Regions from separate parts of the Homo sapiens genome. Here region 1 is linked to region 2. Evidence: promoter capture Hi-C in human tissues and cell types (Jung and others, 2019). All regions are on one chromosome and are shown on one strand. Each heading gives the region's core, a stretch centred on a gene start or on the middle of the fragment in contact. The rest is flanking DNA. Distances are from core to core; before and after follow the strand shown. Region 1 has its middle 4.6 kb from the start of PABPC4. Region 2 holds the start of HEYL (hes related family bHLH transcription factor with YRPW motif like).

Region 1 (5,549 bases), core at 2,590-5,089, 59 kb after region 2:
TCACACAGATGGGAGGCTTGGAGATGTGACAACTACTGTCTACAGTTGTGCAGCCTGTCTTGGTGCTTGGGCCAGACCTCTAGGATTTCAGAGACCCTGTCTCTGGACAAGGAGAGTCTTCCTCCCTGAGTGGCAGAACCATTGCTGCTTACAGGAAATCGAGGTTTTGTGAGGAGAATTGGCCTCCTGCTGGGTGGATGGGGCTGGGGTTTCCTTGCTCTTACCTTCAGATTCAAAGCTTTTTCCAACAACTTACACACACACACTGCTTGTCTCTCTCACTCTCTCCAAGAAGAGGTTGTTCGGTGAACGTTTAGCTCACAGTTCTGTCCCCAGCACCCAGAGCAGAGAGAACCTGGCTCTTAGGAATGCCACATAAGTTTGCTGAGTGAACAAACAAATGATGCCAGAAGGCAAAGCTCTTACATTTCTGCTACGTGTAAAATCCTCAGCTTTCAGGAGGCTGAGGCAGGAGAATTGCTTGAACCCAGGAGGCGGAGGCTATGGTAAGCCGAGTTCGTGCCATTGCACTCCGCCTGGGCAATAAGAGCGAAACTCCGTTTCAAAAAAAAAAAAAAAAATAGCTGCAGAGAGCAGCCTCTATATCCATCTCCCCACCTTGAAGTTCTTCCTTCTTCCTCTTCCCAACCCTGAACATATTCTTTCTCTTGACATGTCAAGACCATCTCTCAAGTATAGACCCACCAAGAATAGGTTCAGTCCCAGTGGAAAAAAAAAAATCATACCACTTCCCACCCCAGCAAGGGCAGATTTGTACTGATGTGCACAAGCCTCCTTTCAGATCACTAGCCTGGTTACTTGTCCAGCCTCTTCCAACCCTACTTTTTGTCCCATGAAGGCCTGTTTAGATTTTGCAGACCTGGAGTCTGGGTGACTCCTCTGGTAGCTTTGCATATCTTTCCCCTCTAAGACTAATTCAGTGATAACCTTGTGTTTAGATGCAAGGAATCGAAATTGTTTTGGTTTCCCAGAAACTTGGGAGCCGTCCTTGACTCCTCACTCTCTCACCTCCTACATCCAATTAATCAGAAATTATACTAAGTATGTCCCTAATTGACACACATCCTCCACCTCCATGGCCACCACCTTAGCAGCCATCGCCTCATAGGTCTCCTTGTACCTATCCTCTAATCCTTTTCCATTTGCAGTCAGACAGGTTTTTTTTTTTTTTTTTGAGACAGAGTCTCACTTTGTTGCCAGGCTGGAGTGCAGTGGCATTGTGTCAGCTCACTGCAACCTCCTCCTTCTGGGTTCAAGTGATTCTCCTGCCTCAGCCTCCCGAATAGCTGAGACTACAGGCACATGCCACCACGCCCAGCTATTTTGTATTTTTAGTAAAGACGGAGTTTCACCATGTTGGCCAGGATGGTCTCGATCTCTTGACCTTGTGATCCATCCGCTTTGGCCTCCCAAAGTGCTAGGATTACAGGTGTGAGCCACCGTGCCCGGCCTAGGTTTTTTAAAAATGTAACTTGAGGGGGCCAGGTGTAGTGACTCAGGCCTGTAATCCCAACACTTTGGGAGGCCGTGGAGGGGAGGATCGATTGAGCCCAGGAGTTCGAGACCAGCATGAGCAACATAGTGCGACCACATCTCTACAAAAAATAAATTAGCAGGGTGTGGTGGTGTGTACCTGTGGTCTCAGCTACTCAGGAGGCTGAGGCAGGAGGATCGCTTGAGCCTAGGAGGTTGAGGCTACAGTGAGCCATGACTGTGCCACTGCACTCCAGCCTGGGCAACAGAGAGAGACCCTGTCTCAAAAAGAAAAAAGTAATTTGGGCTGGGCGCAGTGGCTCACGCCTGTAATCCCAGCACTTTGGGAGGCCCAGGCGGGCGGATCACGAGGTCAGGAGATCAAGACCATCCTGGTTAACACAGTGAAACCCCATTTCTACTAAAAAATACAGAAAATTAGCCGGGCGTGGTGGCAGGCACCTGTTGTCCCAGCTACTCGGGAGGCTGAGGCAGCAGAATGGCGTGAACCCGGGAGGCGGAGTTTGCAGTGAGTGGAGATCCCACTACTGCATTCCAGCCCGGGCGACAGAGTGAGACTCCCTCTCAAAACAAAAAAAAAAAAAAGAAAGAAAAAAGTAATTTGAGCGAAGGCACTTTGCTCTTAAAATCCTGCAGCTTTACTCTTTGATCTGAGGATAAAATCCTAAGTGTTTTAAGGCCATCTCTTTCATTTCCCACAACTCCACAGTTTGTCTCCCTTAGGGCTTTTTTTTTTTTTTCAGACAGAGTCTCTCTCAGTCGCCCAGGCTGGAGTGCAGTGGCACAACCTTGGCTCACTGCAACCTCTGCCTCCCGGATTCACATGATTCTCCTCCCTCAGCCTCCCAAGTAGCTGGGATTATAGGCACCTGCCACCACATCCGGCTAATTTTCTATTTTTAGTAGAGACGGGGTTTTACCATGTTGGTCAGGCTGGTCTCAAACTCCTGACCTCAGGTGATCTGCTCTCCTTGGCCTCCCAAAGTGCTGGAATTACAGGCAATTACAGGCGGCAGCCACCACGCCTGGCACTTAGGGCCTTTATAGATGCTGTTCTCCCTGACTTCATTTAGGGACTCCCCTCCTTTCTTTTTATTTTACTTTTTTTTTTTTTTTTTGAGACAGAGTTTCACTCCTGTTGCCCAGGCTGGAGTGCAATGGCGCAATCTCGGCTCACCGCAACCTCCACCTCCCCGGTTCAAGTGATTCTCCAGCCTCAGCCTCTGGAGTAGCTAGGATTACAGGCATGCACCACCACGCCTGGCTAATTTTGTTTTTTTAGTAGAGATGGGGTTTCTCCATGTCCGTCAGTCTGGTATCGAACTCCTGACCTCAGGTGATCTGCCTGCCTCAGCCTCCCAAAGTGCTGGGATTACAGGCGTGAGCCACCGCGCCCGGCCTCCGCCTCCTTTCTTAGTACAAATGTAGCTTGATAGTAATAGCTATTAACATTCATCCAAGGCTGGGCACATGGTGGCTTACACCTGTAATCCCAACACTTTGGGAGACTGAGGTGGGGGCGGATTGCCTGAGCTCAGGAGTTCGCAACCAGGCTGGGCAACATTGTGAAAACCTGTCTCTACTAAAATACAAAAAATTAGCCCAGTGTGGCGATGTATGCCTGTAGTCCCAGCTACTAGGGAGGCTGAGGCAGGAGAATCGCTTGAACCTGAGAGGCAGAGGTTGCAGTGAGCTGAGATCGCACCACTGCATTCCAGCCTGGGCGACAAAGTGAGACATCTCAAAAAAAAAATTAATCCAAACAATTTATGTGTATTTATATGTATTCATTTATTCTCACAATAACCCTTTTAATTGTTAATAAGGTTTATTAGTATAGTTCAGATGAGAAATTTGAGGGTCAGAGATGTGAACTAGCTTGCCCAAAGTAATATAGGTAATAAGCTCCCCCAATAGACAATAAGCTTCAGGAGGTCAGAGCTTGTGTGGGTTTTGCTCATCTGTGCCTAGTATTCATTTGTTTATTTAACAAATATTTAGGCCAGGTGCAGTGGTTTATGCCTGTAATCCCAACACTTTAAGAAGCCAAAGTGGATCGCTTGAGGTCAGGAGTTTGAGGCTGCAGTGAGCTATGATCAGGCCACTGCACTCCAGCCTGGGCAACACAGTGAGACTTTGTTGCTTAAAAAAAAATACATGCAGTGGCTCATGCCTGTAATCCCAGCACTTTGGGAGGCCAAGGTGGGCGGATCACGAGGTCAGGAGATCAAGACCATCCTGGCTAGCACAGTGAAACCCCATCTTTACTAAAAAATACAAAAAATTAGCCGGGCGTGGTAGTGGGCACCTGTGGTCCCAGCTACTCGGGAGGCTGAGGCAGGAGAATGGCGTGAACCCGGGAGGCAGAGCTTGCAGTGAGCCAAGATCGCGCCACTGCACTCCAGCCTGGGCAACAGAGCGAGACCCAGTCTCAAAAAAAACAAAAAAACAAAAAAAAAAATACACAGGCTGGGTGTGTGGCTCACGCCTGTAATCCCAGCACTTGGGGAAGCCGAGACGAATACATCACCTGAGGTCAGCAGTCGGAGACCAGCCTGGGCAACATGGTGAAATCCCATCTCTACTGAAAATACAAAAAGTAGCTGGGCATAGTGGTGGGTGCCTGTAATTCCAGCTACTTGGGAGGCTGAGGCAGGAGAATCACTTGAATCCGGGAGGTGGCGGTTGCAGTGAGCCGACATCACGCCACTGCACTCCAGCCTGGGTGACAGAGCAAGTCTCTGTCTCAAAAAAAAAAAAAAAAAAAAAAAGGCTGGGCGTGGTGGCTCACCCCTGTAATCCCAGCACTTTGGGAGGCCGAGGCGGGCAGATTACAAGGTCAAGAGATTGAGACCATCCTGGCCAACATGGTGAAACCCCATCTCTACTAAAAATACAAAAATTAGCCAGGTGTGGTGGCACGCACCTGTAGTCCCAGCTACTCGGGAGGCTGAGGCAGGAGAATTGCTTGAATCCGGGAGGCGGAAGTTGCAGTGAGCCTAGATCGCAGTACTGCACTCCAGCCTGCCAATAGAGCGAGAGTTGGTTTCAAAAAAAAAAATAGCCAGGTGTGGTGGCGCATGCCTGCAATCCCAGCTACTTGGGAGGCTGAGGCATGAGAATTGCTTGAACCTGGGAGGCAGAGGTTGCAGTGAGCCGAGACTGCACCACTGCACTCCAGCCTCGGTGACAGAGGAAGATTTCATACCCCCCCCACAAAAAAAACAAGAAAACACACACACACACACACACACACACACACACACACACAAACATATATTGAATATTTATTTATCTATTTATTTTTTAGTAACAGAGTCTCACTCTGTTGCTCAGCCTGGAGTGCAGCGACATGATCATAGCTCACTACAGCCTTCAACTCCTGGCCTCAAGCGATCCTCCTACCTCAGACTCCCAAGTAGCTGAGACCACAGGCATGTGTCCCCACACCCAGCCAATTAAAAGAAAATTTTTTTTTGTAGAGATAGGGTCTCACTCTGTTGCCCAGGCTGGTTTCAAATGTCTGGGCTCAAGCGATCCTCCTGCCTCAGCCTCCCAAAGCACTGAGAGTATAGGTGTGAGCCACCTGCCTGGCCAGTTACTGAACATTTAGTACGTGCTATGTTAAGCACTATTCTAGATTCCTGTTCTCATGAAGCTTATATACCAATGTGGAAAAGATAGATACTAAACAGGTAAACAGATATAGAACAACATAATTTTGGGTAGGAATAACAGGCTTGAAGACAAGAAGACAAGTTGGTGTGATAGTGATTAACAATGTTGACGGCTACTTTAGACCACAGGAGGTCTAGGAAGACTTTCCTGAGGAGGGAATCTATAGAAGGAGCACTCCCATAAATGTTCCTTTTTTTTTGAGACGGAGTCTCGCTCTGTCACCCAGGCTGGAGTGCAGTAGCATGATCTCAGCTTACTGCAACCGCTGCCTCCTGGGTTCCAGCGATTCTCCTGCCTCAGCCTTCCAAGTAGCTGGGACTATAGGCACGTGCCATCATGCCCGGCTAATTTTGTAT
Region 2 (6,037 bases), core at 2,858-5,357:
TTCATGAAAAATCCACCTCCCTCACCTCCCACCAGGCTCCACCACCAACATTGGGGATTACAATTCAACATGAGATTTGGATGGGGACACAGATCCAAACCATATCACCATTCTATTGATATTCCATGCTTGTTCCTACCTCAGGGCTTTCCACTTGCTGTTCCTTCTGCCTGGAATCCTCTTCCCCAGATCTTCTTAGATTCCCTCTCTCCATTCGGGTCTCTGCATAAGTGATTCATCCTCAGAGACGATCTCCTGACCCCTAAGTAAAATAGCCACCAATCCCCCAGTCACCCTATGTCTCCACCTCACTTTATCTTATTTCACAGCATCTATTAATATCACTGACATTACATTATATGTGTTGCTATATGTTTGTCATCCTAAGCTCTGGCCCCTGCAATGTGAGAATGGCCCAATACAAATGGCAAGAAGGCTGTCGTGGGTGAGTGGACAAGGCAGAAAGTGGTTGGGGATGAAGCTGGAGAGATGGGCAGGGGCCTGAGCTTAGGAGATGGTACCTCCAGTGTGCCCTGAACTGCCCTGGCATGATTATTAGTATTGCCTCCTTTCACTCTCAAAGGTGCCCAGGTTATTACAGTTGTTCTGTGTATAGGGCATGGTAAGCAGTTGGCATTTTATTTCAAATGGGATGTGAAGCGTGTGGATGGTTTTGAGCAGGAAGTGACATGATCTGACTGGCATTTTAAAAGGATCATGACCAAGTCCTTGAAACACTCTTTTGGCTCCTGCCCACACCCCCCCACACACACCCCACTCTCCTCCACTGCCCTTTCAGTCTTCTCTGGCAGCTCTTTCTCTTCTACAACCTTTAAATCTTGGAGTTTCTCCAGACTAGCGGTTCCCAACTGGGGGCGATTTCTCCCCCAAGGGACATTTGGTATTTTATCTGGAGATATTTCTGATGGTCACAACTGGAGCGGGTATAACTGGCATCCAGTGGATAGAGGCCAGGGAGGCTGCTTACCATTCTACAATCCACAGAACAGCCCTACACAATAAAGAATGACCTGACCCAAAATGCCAGTAGTCCTGAGGTTAAGAAACCCTGCACCAGATTAGCACCATCCAATAGGAATATCATGGGAGCCAAATATGCAGTTTAACATTTTCTAGTAGTCACATTTTTAAAAACCTAAAAATAAAACAAGGGAAGTTAACTTTACTAATGTATTTTATTTCATCCAATATTTATACAATATTATCATTGCAACATGTAATCATAACAAAAAATATCAATGAGATAGTTCACACTTAAAAAAATTCTGGTGTGTATTTCATACTCACTGCACATACAGCAATTCAGACCAGCCACATTTCAAGTACTTAATAGCCATAGGGGGTTCGTGGCTATTATATTGATGGCATAGCTCTAGGCTCAGTACTGGATAATATATCACAATGTTTAAGAGCTGTATAATTGACGGGGTGTAGTGGCTTACTCCTGTAATCTTAACACTTTGGGAGGCCAAGGTGGGAAGATTGCTTGGCCCCAGGAGTTGAAGACCAGCCCGGGCAACATAGTGAGATCTCATCTCTACCAAAAAAAATTTTTTTTTTTTTTTTTTTTTTTTTGAGACGGAGTCTTACTCTGTCGCCCAGGCTGGAGTGCAGTGGCGCCATCTTGGCTCACTGCAAGCTCCGCCTCCCGGGTTCACGCCATTCTCCTGACTCAGCCTCCCGAGTAGGTGGGACTACAGGTGCCTGCCACCACGCCTGGCTAATTTTTTGTATTTTTTAGTAGAGATGGGGTTTCACCGTGTTAGGCAGGATGGTCTCGATCTCCTGACCTTGTGATCCGCCTGCCTCAGCCTCCCAAAGTGCTGAGATTACAGGCGTGAGCCACCACACCTGGCAAAATGTTGTTTTTTTAATTAGCTGAGCATGGTGGTATGCCCCTGTAGTCTGAGCTATTCAGGAGGCTGAGGTGGGAGGATCACTTGAGCCAAGGAGTTCAAGGTTTCAGTGAGCTACGATGGCACCACTACACTCTAGCCTGGTGACAGAGTGAATCCTTGTCTTTATTTTTAAAAGAAGGGGGAGTACTGTATAAAGTAATAAAGCCTAATGTTTTGGCTCTGGAACTGAACTGCCTTGTTGAATTCCAGCCCTTCCATTTATTGCCTGTTGGCCTTAGGTGGAGTTAGTCTACCTCTCAGCCTTTGTTTCTCACTTGTAAAGTGGGGATTATAATATTACTACTTTATAGGGTTGTCAAGGATTAAATGAGTTAATATTTACAAAAGACTTAGAATAGTTTCAGGTTTTATAATAAGGGCTCACCAAATGTTAAGTATTTAGCTAGGCCCCTGCTCTGTCTCCATCCACGTTTTCTGAATGATCCCATCTGCTCCCATAGCTTTAAATGCCATCAATTACCTAATGACGTCCAAATTTAATATCCAGCTGAGACCTCTGTTCTGAACTCCATACCCTCTATTTAACTGTGCACTGTATTTTGATGATCCAAGACATCTCACATGAAACGTCCATCACGGGGCCCTTGACCTTCCCCTGCAAATCTGCTCCTCTTCCAATCTTTGCTATCTCAGCCAATTACACAGGGCAGCTATCTGGGAGGCTTCCTTGACTTCCGCCTTTCCAGGGAATGCATAACACATTGTGCAACTTCTCTGTTAGTTGAGGTTTCCACTGACTGGCATGTGCCCACAGAAGTGATGTGAGTGCTGAGGGCATTTGGAATGAGAGTCCATAGTTGTGGCTGGGGCGACCACCAGGGCTTCCTGGTACTGATTGCTCACGACAGTTGCGCCTACCAGTATATATTTGTAAGTCTGTCCGTGTGTATGTGTTTGCATACCTGGCCAAATGGTTGTGTCTGTGGATGTGTGTGGACGGGGGCACAGGAACATTCTTTCCCATCAAGTAATCAAGTGTCCCCCAGCAAGCAGGCCTTGCTGTGGGGATGGAAGCACAGTTATTCTCAGATGACCAACCCGATTCTCCCACTTGAAGGGGTGGCTTCCCTCAGGTCCTGACCTGGTGGCGGGTAAAAAGGAAAAGACCTCTCATATCTAACCCAGCACACCAAGACCTCCTCTATCTCCTCTTCCCTGCCCAAGAAGTCCAGCTCCAGGATGCTCTCATGCAGCTTCCTTTGGAGCCTTAGGAGCTTCTCTGAGGTACTGGGCGCCTGAGGATGACCGGTGAATCTGAGAACTTCCCACAAGTCCCCCTAAGGACAGGGCAGCTAGAGCCCTCCCTGAGTGAACAGTTTGATGGGTTGCCAGAAGCAGAGGCCCCAGGAAGAGAGGCTGGAAGGTATCTTCCCTTTTCCTCTCCTTCTCCCACTTTGAGGCCCTGCCATAGCGTCTAGAAGGAGCCCTTTCCTGGCCTCCTGGCCGCCCAGGACAACTCGACCTCTGGTGAACTGGGAACTGATTCCCAGGGACAACCCACCACTGCCACCACGCCAGGCCTTTAGGGACCTCGGCCAGAGCCCAGCTTTCTCAGATGCGGTGGCCACAACTTCAGCCGTCCCTTTTGGGGGTGACTGCCACCTCTCAGAAGTGTAAGTGTCTTCCCCTTGCCCCCACCACACTATTCCACTTGCTTTGGGCCCCTATGGAGTTGCTGCTGGGGAATTCTTGCTGAGGATCAGGCCACAACCACCACGACTAACTTCGACAAACTTGATGTGTCTGCTGCCTCCAGAACACCAGGAGGCAGGAGCGCGCAGGGTTGACCCTTGCGGAATCCCGGGCATCGAAGCGGCGCCTCTACAGGCCAGCAGCGCCCAGGCGACCCAGGGACAGACGGGGACTCCTGGCTTCCCCGCGGGGCCTCCCAGGGCACCTGCCCAAGGCCACCCAGCGCGCGGCAGCCGAGACAGCGGAGCAGAGCCGGACCTCCCAGCCGTCGATGAAGGCGGCGACCGCCTAGGGCCTTCCCACGGCTCGGCGGCGCGTCACCGCGGGGGCGAGGGGGCGCCTGGGCGCCCGGAGCTGCGGCGCAGGAAAGGGCCCTGGGAAAGGGCGGTGGCGGCGCCCCCGAGGCGGGGCCGGGGCGGGGCCGGGGCGGGGCCTGACTTCCCGACTGGGAGCCTTAGCCGCGGGGCTGAGACCAGGCAGCCTGCGTTCGCCATGAAGCGACCCAAGGAGCCGAGCGGCTCCGACGGGGAGTCCGACGGACCCATCGACGTGGGCCAAGAGGGCCAGCTGAGGTAAGGGCCGGGATGCGGGGACCGAGCAGGCGGAGGGCGAGCGGGGTGGGGGTCGGCCCGACGGGCTCGCCGAGCAGGCGGGCCAGCCCTCCAGCACCGCCTGGGCAGAGGCAGGTGAGCGCGGGGGCCACAGGTGTCGGCGTAGGGGGCGTGTGCGGGCCGTGCCGTTACACGCACGAGTGCCTGGATCCTGCGCGCTCTCGGTCGTGCAGGGCTGGGGATGCTGGCAGGGAGGGAGAGTTCAGCTCGGGGGATCAGGTGGCTAGTGGGTTATCATCTATCTGTTGAAGTGGCCTAGGGGAGGCCATTGGCAGGTTTTCCCTGGAGATCTTAGAAAACTCTCATAGACTGATGGTACTCTGGCCCCTGTCTGGAATCTGCTGACGATGCAGAGTAACCCCATCCTTTCCCAATTTTACCCTAGTTTGGATGCAGTTTTCATGTAGTCCACAAATTATTTCAGGAAGAAGAAAATTTGTCCTCCTTTGAGCAAATTGGAGTTTGGATTTAGGGACTTAGTATTGAAGAAAATAATAAGCGACTTGCAAGGGCCTAGACTCTAATTCCAATGTTCCTCCTATCGTGCCCCCATACTGCCAGTGTCTTTCAGCTCCTGGTAGATAGTCTGACCTGCTTCAAACCTGTCGAACAAACTGCGCTTGTATAGTTCTGCTACCTCGCAGTTCTGTAAACTGTCTAAGCTTCAGTTTCCTTATCTGTTAAATGAGCATGAATAATAGAACCAACTTCATGGAAATATTGGGAAAACCAAATGAGGCAAAGTATGTCAAGGGCTTAGCACAGCACATGCCTAGGTACACACCATGTGATTCCCAGCACCCTGAAAGAGCTGCAGGGCTGACTGGGAGTCTGCAGACCTGGGTCCCAGCCCCAAATCTGCCACCAACTCACTATGTGGTCTTGGGCCATTGGTTTCCCTGACAGAGTCTGTCATCAGTTTCCCCATCAGTAAAACAAAGACAGCAGTGGAAAAGAAAGGGATATACTTCATCTCTCTTGGCTCATCTAGACTTGACTCTCTAGAACAGAATTGGAGGGGAATTCAGTTAATTCTTTCTTTCTTTCTTTTTGACATGGTCTCACTCTGTTGCCCATGCTGGAGTGCAGTGGCATGATCATAGCTCATGGCAACCTTGATCTCCTGGGCTTAAGTGATCCTCCTGCCTTGGCCTCCCAAAGTGTTGGGATTACAGACATAAGCCAGTGAGCCAGGCCCAGTTAATTCTTAGGGATGTTTTTGAGGACATTTTGTAATTTTAGTGCTCTCCAGTTTTCTGAGATCCAAGGATCCTGCCTCAGTCTCAAATCCCAGGAAAATGCCATAATAGATATTCCTCTTGCAGCCTGTACATTTGTTTTTAGGGAGTATAACACAACTCGCTATGCAACGTATTAGCCTTTCTTAATTGTTTAGCAGAAACTGCTATTTAGAAAAGCAGTTATCTTAGCCTGTGCCTGTTAAGGGCCAGGAAAGGGCACAGCACCACGTGGTGGTGGTGGAGCGGGGTCTCAAATTCAATGGCATTGGGTCTTCATAGATCAGAGGCACAAAATTGATGCCAGAGAACTAGGTTGATCAGAGCTGGCTTCTGTCCTCCACAAGTTTGCAGCCCAGTCAGTGACCTGCCAGGTCATAAAAACACCATGGACAGGATGGAAAGGAGACAGACTGTGGGCTGTGAGGGCACTTAAGCAAAGAGAGGTCACTCTTAATCAAAGATGGCAAGGAGGGCTTCTTGAAGATAGTAGCATCTGGGCAACTGCTTACATGAGGCATAAAGGATCAGTGGGCAGTTTTTTCCTATACATACA

Evidence for each region. Contacts are between HindIII fragments. The study calls those that stand out against the background at their distance.
Region 1: a fragment that was not itself captured here is called in contact with the fragment with the promoter of HEYL in region 2 in 4 of the 25 tissues and cell types used here (IMR-90 fibroblasts, aorta, ovary and 1 more).

What each region holds. Positions count from the first base shown.
Region 1 is chr1:39,578,595-39,584,143 of GRCh38, reverse strand. No RefSeq gene overlaps it. Among named protein-coding and RNA genes, the nearest start is that of PABPC4, 4.6 kb to the right of the region's middle. The HindIII fragment of the contact is 4,000 bases long and covers 1,840-5,549 here.
Region 2 is chr1:39,637,713-39,643,749 of GRCh38, reverse strand. HEYL (hes related family bHLH transcription factor with YRPW motif like) reads left to right here and starts at 4,107. Exons shown (of 5, transcript NM_014571.4): 1 at 4,107-4,204. The coding sequence starts at 4,125. RefSeq lists silencers at 3,751-4,140, 4,261-4,330. The HindIII fragment of the contact is 11,489 bases long and covers 1-6,037 here.